Linked DNA regions of Homo sapiens: regions 1, 2 and 3 are each linked to region 4. The links are contacts of gene promoters, found by promoter capture Hi-C in blood cells and fetal thymus (Javierre and others, 2016). All regions are on one chromosome and are shown on one strand. Each heading gives the region's core, a stretch centred on a gene start or on the middle of the fragment in contact. The rest is flanking DNA. Distances are from core to core; before and after follow the strand shown.

Region 1 (2,717 bases), core at 96-2,595, 84 kb before region 4:
TGGATGAGGAATCTTTGCACTAATGTTCTTCAATCATATATAAGGCTGCCCATGGGAAGAAGGGAGAGAATGAGACTTTATTGTCCTCAACCTAATCAAAGGAAAAGAGATCAAATGCTCTACTTCCTCTTGCTTTTGCTCAACCCTAATACCTTGATTCCCCAGATACAGCCCATTCAGTGTTCATCTTGTCCTTGCTCCTAACACCTAGAACCAATAAAACTGTCACTAGGCAAGCTAATTCCTATAACATCAGAGAGACTCCCAACAGAGAAGAAGAAAGGCTGGGCCACCTAAATCTCCCTGGATAAATGCTTGGAGTTTTAGATAGAACTTGGAGCTGTGGAGTCTCCCACGTCTAATTTCCTCTCCCCATTTTTTTCCAGCAATTTCCAATCACATGCTTATCTACTCACAACTTTAAAAAATCAGAGGGCTATATGATTCCTACTACATGACATTCTAGAAAAAGTGAAACTACAGAGACAGTACAAAGATCAGTGGTTACCGGGGGTTCAGAAGGGTGGGATGAATAGGTGGAGATTTTTATGGCAGTGAGACTATTCCATATGGTATTGTTATAGTAGATACATATTATTATACATTTGCGAAACCCCACAGAATGTATAGGCAGTGAACACTAATGAAAATTATGGCCTTTAGTTAATAATAATGTATTAATATTTGGTTCAACAATTGTAACAAATATAGCACACTGATGCAAGATGTTAACAATAAAGGAAATTGTGAGTAGGGGTGGAGTGAGGAGGTATACGGGAACTCTACTCTGCACTCAATTTTTCTATACGCTTACTGCTGCTCTAAAAAATAAAGTCTATTAATTTTTTTAAATAGAGGAAACACTGGCGAATAATCCCCACCAGTACCACGGCTAATAAGAGCCAAGATAAGCTGTATAAAAAGGACATAAAAATGTAAAAAATTAGACTGTAGGGCTTGATCTCAAACAGTAACTAAAGGACAATAACTAAAGACAGGAAAGAAGCTTGAGGAAGTGAAGGAAAGACAACCTCATAGTGGCATTTTATAGTGACTAGTGTGCAAACAACTAAAACAAATTTATTTCCCTCACAGAAAGAGAACAGAAGCCAAGACACTTAAAAGGGACACTGAGTTTCTCAGCAGAAAAATCACCACCATTAAGCCTCTGGCATACTTACGAGTATCACCCTGATGCCTCTCCCTGTGGCTAAGGAATCAGAGCTTGTCATTGTAACCAAATCAGCAACCTGTGCTGGTGCCAATCTTTATAGTGGATTGAGCTATTTTTCAGGAAAAGCAAGGGATAATTGCCCAGTATCAAAAGAAGATCTGACCCTTGGGAGGAGAAAGGAGGTGTTCCTTTTGCCACAGGATGATTCTCTCTGGAATAACATAAATGGCTCTTTGAGAGACCATGTCTTTGATAAGCAGCGGTGCAACTCTGACAGCCAATCTGCTGAATGTCGAACAGAGCACTCAGCTTTCTACAATGACTCAAAGGACACAGCAAGGCTGCAGATTTATTCTGCTGACTTTCCCCGCACAGCCACTCAAGTTTTTCAAAGGCAAAAAGGAACAACTCTTTCCTTTCAATCCAGGGAATTGCAAATTCCACTGGGATTTAAAGACAGAGCTATGTTTGCTCAAAATCTGACATCGCTGATGTGAACAACAAGATTTAAAAGCTTGGAATGATGGCTGGCAATTTTAGCAGTTAGAGCAGAAGTTGGTTCGGCACTTCAATCTGCCAGCAGAATCAGCAGTCACACAGGGCACATGGTGTGCCAGACTGGGAATGAGCTAATTTCACAAAATTCATTCTCATTCTCTTTGTACTTTCACATGACAATTGCAAACAGTCCACATTCTTACCAAAGCACAAATACAAAGGTAGCATATTTCACTGCACAAAGAAATTTCGAAGTAAAAACACAAAGGCACTGTTACAAAGAGATAAACCTCAAAGCTTCTATCTTTTCTCCATGATGCTTTCCTTCTTGAAATCCTATCCTTAACATGATAATTTTGAGACAAAACTTTAAAAAGCAACATCTCCCTACAATAAACTATTAAAACTATTTCTTCTTCACAATTTGTATGTCAATTCTTCAAGATGAGATTTTGAAACAGAAAACCATTCTACACATTCTACCTCAAAAGTAACATCCACATGCTACGATTTAAAGGACAAGCTCTCTGTGGTTAAATAGATTCAACCCCCAACAGACAAAAGAAAACTAGGCTTGACAGTTAAGATACCCAATTTCTGTTTAAAACATGTGTTGTTATCTTATGATAGCAAACAAAGAAAAAAAACCCTCAAATTTGGGGGTGATGAGTTCTATTGTGATTTTAAAAAACATGTATTATTGTACTAAGTACACTAGTACAATAGGTACTGAAGCAAAGTGATTAGTAATAGCAAAACAGCACAGAAAATTATAAGCAGAAAATCAGAATAACATTTTCCCCCAAACTAAATACATAACCTTTTCACAAAAATTAATGGAAAGAGGACAAAAATAAAGATATTTTGCTTTATAAATAATATTGGCAAACACTATACTTTATGTGTTAAGTTTTTAGACATAACCAAAGGCCTGACATTTAACCAAATGTCGACTAGCACTGTAATTCTTTCAGAAAGGTTTATCATTTGGTTATAAAGACTCTATTAGGATTAAAATCTCAGTATGACTGAACTCCAGAGCATG
Region 2 (2,700 bases), core at 89-2,588, 120 kb before region 4:
AAGGGTGCTAGAACGCAGGGAGAAGAGGAGATGGGGAAGACCACAACACCAACTGCTCTGTAATATCAGGTCCAAACAACAGAAGTGGACAGATTGTTGGTAAAGTGGGGTCCAAGTAGGAGGCTCCAAATGAAAAAAACATTAAGGCAAACTCGTATTGAACAAGGGGAAGCAATTTTTAATAATAATAATAGAGAAGGGAAGGGCTGGGCACTAGTTGGCCATCACAAAAATAGGAAATTGAGAATGAAGCCCTCCATGGTAGGGCTGAATTGGACTCTTTTATGAGGGCGCTAACAGGGAGATAAATTATGCAGGATTAGGAGAACCATTTAACTTCTTGGCCCCTACAGTGCTGCAGCAGGCGCCTGCATGGCTATTTGGCTCAGAGTTTTAATGAGCCAGGATGGAGCTGTAGAGGACCAAGGCGCAATGGCCAGCAATAATGGCACATACCAGCCCCATCGGCCAAATGCTGTCTCCCCTCATCGGGCAGCCCGCCTGGGCTCCATCAGCCATAAAAAGGCCAGTACAATGCTGATGACTATATAATGGTAGAATAAAAATGCCAGGAAAAAATATTTTTTTAGGGGTAGGGAGGAGCCTGTAGGCAGGATGAGGGAAGAGAAAGGGAGATGGTATAGAGATTTTATTTTTTTGGGATTTGGGTGAAAGGACAATGAAGAAAAGTGGGCTAACTCTATCCAGTTTATGATTAAGTAAAATAGGGTTACTGGACAATAATTTATGCTCCTACCCCTTCTTAAAAGGGGGAGAGTGAAGGGAACAGATGAACAGCAGTAATTCAAAAGAATAATATTCTCAAAAGTCCCTTTGAGGCTCCTGGCCATATTCCTTCATTAAAACATGACTGCAACACAGTAACAGCCCGGATGCTGCAGTTTTCCACAGCTCCTTCACACTGAGGCTCTGAAACATGGTTCCGTTTGTCTTTTTGCTTCTAAAAATGGTGATTGGTTAGTCGTCTCTTTTTACTTTCTTCATCACGTGTATACTTCTCACCAAATACTATACGTTTAGCCTTCTTTTCCAAAGCTCTTCTTGACTGCAAACAAAATACACGGGAGTTGGCCCCATCCAGCTCCTACCTGTCAGGAAAGCAATACCAAACTGTTTCTACTACTTTATTTTACCTGAATTTACAACTAAAGCCAATTTAAGATCCAAAATCCCAGGCTGGTCGCGATGGCTCATGCCTGTAATTGCAGCACTTTGGGAGGCTGAGGTGGACAGATTGCTTGAGGCCAGGAGTTCAAGACCAGACTGGGTAATCTGGCAAAAACCCATTTCTATACAAAAATGTTTTATTTTTATTTATTTATTTATCTTTGAGACGGAGTCTTGCTCTGTCGCCCAGGCTGGAGTGCAGTGGCGCAATCTCCGCTCACTGCAACCTCTGCTGCCCATGTTCAAGCAATTCTCCTGTCTCAGCCTCCTGAGTAGCTGGGACTACAGGCGCATGCCACCATGCCCGGCTAATTTTTGTATTTTTAGTAGAGATGGGGTTTCACCATATTGGTCAGGGTGGTCTTGAACTCCTGACCTCAGGTGATCCACTCACCTTGGCCTCCCAAAGTGCTGGTATTACAGGCATGAGCCACCATGCCCAGCAACAGAAAACTTTTAAATTAGCTGGGTGTGGTGATGCTCACCTGTAGTTCCAGCTACTCAGGAGGCTGAGGTGGGGGGAGCCCAGGAGGTTGAGGCTGTAGTGAGCCATGATTACACCACTGTACTCCAGTGAGACCCTTTCTCAAAAAAGGGCCAGGTGCGGTGGCTGATGCCTGTAATCCCAGCACTTTGGGAGGCCTAGGTGGGTGGATCACTTAAGGTAAGGAGTTCGAGGCCAGCATGACCAACATGGCAAAACCCCATCTCTACAAAAAACACAAAAATTAGCTGGGCATGGTGGCGGGTGCTTGTAATCCTACCTACTTGGGAGACTGAGGCACGAGAATTGCTTGAACCCGGGAGGTGGAGTTTGCAGTGAGCCGAGATCCCACCACTAAGCTCCAGCCTGGGTGACAGAGGAAGACCTTGTCTCAAAAAAAGAAAAAAAAAAAAAAAAAAAAAAAAGACAGCCTCAGTGGTTTCTGATTGATCTAGGACAAAAACTGAATAAAATGTGGAAAAATTTAACCAAGAACTTTAGTTTTCTCTATTGTTGGTAAACTCCAGGCACCATCTTTTTCAGTTACAGATGTTTCCGTAAGAAAAAAGTGGCCGGGAGTGGTGGCTCATGCTTGTAATCCCAGCACTGGGAGGCTGAGGCAGGTGGATCACCTGAGGTCAGGAGTTCGAGACCAGACTGGCCAACATGATGAAACCCCATCTCTACTAAAAATACAGAATTAGCCGGGCATGGTGGCACATGCCTATACTCCTAGCTACTCGGGGGGCTGGGGCTGAGGCAGGAGAATCGCTTGAACCAGGTAGACGGAGGTTGCAGTGAGCCGAGATTGCGCCATTGCACTCCAGCCTGGGCAACAACAGTGAAACTCCATCTCAAAAAAAAAAAAAGAGTGAGGGTTTGGGGGAAGGAGGGAATAGTGTATTAACCAGGGGTATGATATTTGTAGGTTAAACAAGTCACTGTAGAGGGTCTGGGATTGCCAGGTATTTGGTAAGAGGAAATAAGCAGAACCTAGTTTATAAAGAAGAAAATAATATAATTTTTTT
Region 3 (2,700 bases), core at 170-2,669, 100 kb before region 4:
TTGATTACGGTCTAAAATGATAACAAATTGTTCCAATTATATAGAACCTGCCACTCCATTATATCATAATGTAGACAAACCAGGAAGTGCTAATGGGATCCTATTAACCTTCATATCACATTACAACAGCCTAGGGGAAGAGAGGAGAGAAAGGAAAATACAAAGGCCATTAAAAATACTGATGGGTGTCAGGCAGGGGCTAAGAGGTTGGAACTTCCAGTCCTCACCTCTAGGTAACAACTCACTACAGTATAGCAAATGCAGATTTCAACCATAGTATAGTAGGCCGGTAATGCCTCCAGTATAGACCTGTCCTGCCAAAATACAACATACCAGGTGGCTTAAACAGAACTTTATTATCTCTCAGTTCTGGAGGCCAGAGGTGTTACCAGGGTTGGTTTCTTCTGAAGGATGTCAGCAAGAATGTGTTTCATGTCTCTCCTAGCTTCTGGCTTGCTGGCAGTCTTTGGCATTCCTTGACTTGTGGCAGCATAAATCCAACCTTCACATAGTGTTCTCCTGTGTGCGTGTGTGTGTGTGTGTGTGTGTGTGTGTGTGTGTGTGTGTATGTCCAATTTCCTCTTTTTATAGGACACCAGTCATATTGGAGTAGGGGCCCACCTTACTTCAGTATGACCTCATATTAACTAATGCCATCTGCAATGACCCTGTTTCCAAATAAGGTCACATTTTAAGGTACCTGGGGTTAAGACTTCACCATAAAAATTCAATTCAATCCATAACAGCTCACAAAGATATATCAATGTTCTAATTCTTAGAAGCTGTGAATGTTACCTTATATGGTGATTAAATTAAGGGCTTTGAGATGAGGGGATTATCCAGATGGGCCCTCAATGCTATCACAAGCGTCCTTCTAAGACAGCAGCAAAGGGAGATTAGAAACACACAGAGAGGAGAGGGCAATGTGAAGAAAGACATAGAGATTGAAGTGATGTAACCACAAGCCAAGAAATGCCGGCAGCAACTAGAAGCTGGAAGAGGCAAGGAAAGGATTCTCCTGGAGAGCCTTCTCAGGAGGATACGGTCCTCTTTAATATCTTGGTGGGCTTTTGGTCTCCCAAACTGTGAGATAATAAATTTCTTTTCTTTCAAGCCACCTAGTTTGTGGTAATTTGTTATAACGCCTACAGGAAACTAATATACATATTATCTTTTCATAATTTAAACATAATTATCTCCATTCTAAGAGCAGCAGAGGAGCAGGCAGATAACAGACAATAGGTGACAAACTCCAAGCAATTATACCCATAACCACAAACCACTGTAACCAGCATTTTTTTAAAAGGGAAAGCCAGGCACAGTGGTGTGCACCTGTAGTCCCAGCTACTCAGAAGACTGAGAAGGGAGGATCATTTGAGCCCACAAGTTTGAGTCCAGCCTGGGCAACACAGTGAGACTCCATCTCTTTAAAAAAAAAAAAAAAGGGAGCAGGGAGACAAATCCGCACTGAAATATCACCACCACAACAAAAGAAACTACAGAGTACATCACACTAGATAAGGGTGAATACTATTACATGGCTCTCTAATTTCTATTATATAAAAAATGTGTTTTGGTTGGGCACGGTGGCTCACGCCTGTAATCCCAGCACTTTGGGAGGCTGAGGCAGCCAGATCACCTGAAGTCAGGAGTTAAAAACCAGCCTGGCCAACATGGCGAAACCCGGTCTCTACTAAACATACAAAAATTAGCTGGGTGTGGTGGCGCACACCTGTAATCACAGACACTCGGCAGGCCGAGGCAGGAGAATCGCTTGAACCTGAGAGACGGAGGTTGCAGTGAGCCGAGACAGTGCCACTGCACTCCAGCCTGGGATACAGAGCCAGACTCCATCTCAAAAAAAAAAAAGAAAAAGTGTTTTAAGTTGCAATGTAAAATGTATTTCTTACTCGATTCATAAACCAAAAGGACTGAGACTTCTGGTTTTTGGCTTGGCATATAAAGAGCTTAGAATAACAGTTGTCACTCTATCCTAACAACAAATAAAAAGCTGAACTGAAAAATCTTAACAACTCTTCATAGATCTATCAGAGAAGTGAGTTCACAGGGCAAACTGCTGTTCCCCAAATTGGCAGATATAGAGAATCACAACCTAAAGGAGCAGAAACCCATGAGCTGAAACCTGCATGACAATCAAGTGCCAGGGGAGGAAAACCTGAACTATAATTGATGAAGCTAGAGGCCAAGTGTGGACAAGTCTGAGAGTTAAAAATGCCAGGGAGACCCAGTCACAGAGGAGCCCCCACACCGTTGTGAGATTTACCTCCAGGTTCTCCCAGCTCTACTAGGTTCTTACGGTGAATATCAGGGGAAATTTCTTGTGCTTTTGGCGGGGGGAAAGGGAAAAGTACAGTAGCCTCCCCTTACCCGTGGTTTCACTTTCCATGGTTTCAGTTACCCATAGTCAACTGCAGTTCAAAAATAGATGAGTACTGGTCGAGTAAGGTGGCTCACACCTATAATTCCAGCATTTTGGGAGGCTGACGTGGGAGGACCGCTTGAGCCCAGGAGTTCGAGACTAGCCTGGGTGATAGAGTGAGACCCTGCCTCTATTTAATTTTTTTTTTTTTTTTGAGAGAGAATCTCACTCTGTCACCCAGGCTGGAGTGCAGTGGCACAATCTCAGCTCACTGCAACCTCCGCCTCCTGGGTTCAAGCAATTCTTGTGCCTCAGCCTCC
Region 4 (2,700 bases), core at 91-2,590:
CAGCCTTAATTACTTTTAAGTTAATGGATGTCTTCAACTCTTGTCCTATCTAGAACTCTGATTTTTGCCTATATGTAACTCTAACCCAATTTTGCTGCCGTACTATTCAGGTTTTCTTGGGTCAAAATCCAATAGTTCTTTAAGGCTTTTAGAAAAAGAAGGGGTGGTTCTTTTCTAAGGGAATTATACCTTATTATCTTCTTTGTAAAATGCAGCTCTTAGGGGGATTAAGTATGTTCATTTACAAATTAACATACATAAAGAGTTTAATGTGGTGCTGGCATATAATAAACCCACAACAAGGGGTGGCAATTAAGTGATCCCACCATTGGCTATCTAACCATGGCAACTCTGCAATTGTTAGCCTACAACTTGGGCAAAGGCACTATCCAGAATCAGGACTCCAAAATCATCACGGGCTTTTTCCTCAGTGTAGATGAGTCACAGGGGTAGTAACTTAACTATTCCTTTCCTTAAACCTTCTTTTCCTTGTAACAGCAGAATCTGGGGAGGTTAATTAATCCTTCACAGGAAAGCTGGCAGGCAGGGTCTCATGCTGGCCCCACTAGCTTGGCCTTACCCCACCTTTCTGGGCCTGCTGCCTCAACAGAAACCCTCATCTCTAGCCCACCATTTGTGACTTTTACAACTTCACCAGCGTGCCGGGATGCGAGAAAGGTACTGGTAAATAACTAGTGATTCCAAAGCAACCAGCCTCTCTCTTCTGCCTTAGCTATCCCAAGCCACAACCTAACGGGAGGCGATGTTTTGGCTTTTTTTCCCACTTCTACCATGTTCAAGGTTTACTTTTTAAATTGAGGGGTGCTGACTAGAGGGATTGGTGACTTTAGACGATCCACTATCTCCATTGCTCGGAGCACCTGAGGTTCTGGGGCCTAAAGTCTGGAGATTTCAGAATAAAGAAGGCACAAGTCAGGATGAGAAGAGAAAGCAGAGATAGGAGGGGAGAGCCTGGGGGTTGTCACAATCTGAAAGGGCCAGAGGGCGAGAAAAGAGTGTTTGCAGGGACTGGGTGGAACAGGTGAAAAGCAGCACTCCAGGATCTAACTTTGGCCAGCTCCAAGGTATCCTCCCCCTGCGAGACATCCAAGATGGCGCCAGGCCCGCGCGGTTGGAGGTCACCGGCACGCGGAAGAGCCAACTCTAAGGCTAAGGGATAGCGGAAGCAAGAAAGGGCGAGAGGACCAGGGTGGGAGCACGCAAGGTAAGCGCCTCAAAGCATCCGCGCAAGGTGAGGTGTCCCGCGCGCGTGCGCAGCGCACAGAGGGCTCTAGGTCCCAAGGCCTTACCTGCTCCCACTGCAGAGAAGACAGAGAGGGGCGGAGCAGCGGGAAGAGCGAAAGGAAGGCTCAGCGCATGCGTGACCCGGGCCAACGAGTCGCTCAGCCACGGATAGAGTGATTGCAACATACAGGATCAGCTCAGGCATCACAGCGCCGCCTGCCAGGGCTGTGGCGGTATCCGGCCGGTTGCTCCACCTGGCGTTCGAGAGGAGAAACTACAGGGAGCGCCGACTGCAGAAATGAGGCCAACTCCGCGGAGTAAGCCGATCCGTAACGTGGACTGCGGTTTGGTCTGTACCGCGTTTGGGATCTCGGACTTGCGTCCCCTTTCCGAGCATGCGCAGTCGTCACACTGCCAAAACAAAACTCCTACTCAGAATTCAGTGTTAACATACGGTCGGGATTGGGGTTCAGTGCCTAAAATGCAGCAGGAGGAAGATCTTGGGAGTCCTGCTTTCTGTCGCGCCGGGACTCTGGCATCACTGGATGGCAAACCGGCTCCATGGGCGAATAGTCAGCAAAATGCCGCAGCTGCTTCTGGTGGCTTCGCCCTTTCCCCCACTCCCCGTTTCCTCCTTTCCATTCCGGTGATAAACCATGAGAGAAGCAGCATCAGCGAGCCAGAAGATAGGGTTAAATATGATCCGAATCCCTCTTTCCTGGCTCCTGGGACAGTCTAGGAATAACGGGCACCTGCGACCCGCTGTAAGGTTGCGAGGTCACTCCAGGCTTGCCCGAGCCTCTGCTCAGGTTTCAACTACGCGAGTTGGGATAAGCAGCGCCCTCCCCTCCCGCCCCCATGCTCTCCTGAACGTGGGTTTTCTCTCCCCTTTCGCTCGCCCTTCCCCTGATGGAAGGAGGTGGGGGAGGCTTCCTGGCCCTCATCTTTCCTAGGCCTCCTTGTCTCCCAGACAGGACCTGCCCTGCCCTTTGGAACAGGGCGACAAGGCCTATCCAGTTCCAAACCCCTGCCGTCCCTGCATCGTGCTTGAACGCAGCACGAGAAAGACGGGAAAAGCTCACCAAACCCCATAAAAAATAAAAAATAAAAAGAAAGCCGCGGCTGTAAATAAAGGCAAATCCGCCACTCTCTGAGGGGCCGTTTGTCCTCCCCTCCTTGGCCCCGTCCTTCCCGCCGCCCCCTCCCGGCTCCCGGGCCCCGCGGCGCCCCGGCCCCGAGCTCCTCCATTTAATCGGATTTGGGAGAAGGGGAGGATAAATCACGGCAGCAGCTTTACGGTCCCGGAGGAGAGGCGAGCCGCAGACAGGCACACCCCGGCCGGCGATAAAAACCGCCGCTGAAAGCCCACGGAGCAATTTCCCGGGACCCCGAGCGACGCCATTACAGGAATGTAATTTTGCCCGGATGAGGCCCCGAGTTTAATTATCCTCGCGG

What was found. Contacts are between HindIII fragments. The CHiCAGO score rates a contact against its expected background, and 5 or more counts as called.
Region 1: a contact is called between a fragment that was not itself captured here and the fragment with the promoter of ATP5MC2 in region 4, in 3 of 17 cell types (endothelial precursors, megakaryocytes and erythroblasts). The highest score is 7.9, in endothelial precursors.
Region 2: a contact is called between a fragment that was not itself captured here and the fragment with the promoter of ATP5MC2 in region 4, in 16 of 17 cell types (endothelial precursors, megakaryocytes, naive CD4 T cells and 13 more). The highest score is 17.4, in endothelial precursors.
Region 3: a contact is called between a fragment that was not itself captured here and the fragment with the promoter of ATP5MC2 in region 4, in 6 of 17 cell types (megakaryocytes, endothelial precursors, erythroblasts and 3 more). The highest score is 10.5, in megakaryocytes.

What each region holds. Positions count from the first base shown.
Region 1 is chr12:53,590,362-53,593,078 of GRCh38, forward strand. The region is part of intron 2 of ATF7-NPFF (ATF7-NPFF readthrough); the gene reads right to left. All of the region lies in intron 2 of ATF7 (activating transcription factor 7), which reads right to left. Among named protein-coding and RNA genes, the nearest start is that of ATF7, 35 kb to the right of the region's middle. The HindIII fragment of the contact is 682 bases long and covers 1,005-1,686 here.
Region 2 is chr12:53,552,798-53,555,497 of GRCh38, forward strand. All of the region lies in intron 2 of ATF7-NPFF (ATF7-NPFF readthrough), which reads right to left. All of the region lies in intron 2 of ATF7 (activating transcription factor 7), which reads right to left. The region is part of intron 2 of LOC124902937 (a long non-coding RNA gene); the gene reads left to right. Among named protein-coding and RNA genes, the nearest start is that of ATF7-AS1, 40 kb to the left of the region's middle. The HindIII fragment of the contact is 4,672 bases long and covers 1-2,700 here.
Region 3 is chr12:53,570,210-53,572,909 of GRCh38, forward strand. The region is part of intron 2 of ATF7-NPFF (ATF7-NPFF readthrough); the gene reads right to left. The region is part of intron 2 of ATF7 (activating transcription factor 7); the gene reads right to left. The region is part of intron 2 of LOC124902937 (a long non-coding RNA gene); the gene reads left to right. Among named protein-coding and RNA genes, the nearest start is that of ATF7, 55 kb to the right of the region's middle. The HindIII fragment of the contact is 6,274 bases long and covers 1-2,700 here.
Region 4 is chr12:53,674,743-53,677,442 of GRCh38, forward strand. ATP5MC2 (ATP synthase membrane subunit c locus 2) reads right to left here and starts at 1,341. Exons shown (of 5, transcript NM_005176.7): 1 at 1,311-1,341. RefSeq lists enhancers at 1,043-1,492, 1,603-1,832. The HindIII fragment of the contact is 5,549 bases long and covers 1-2,700 here.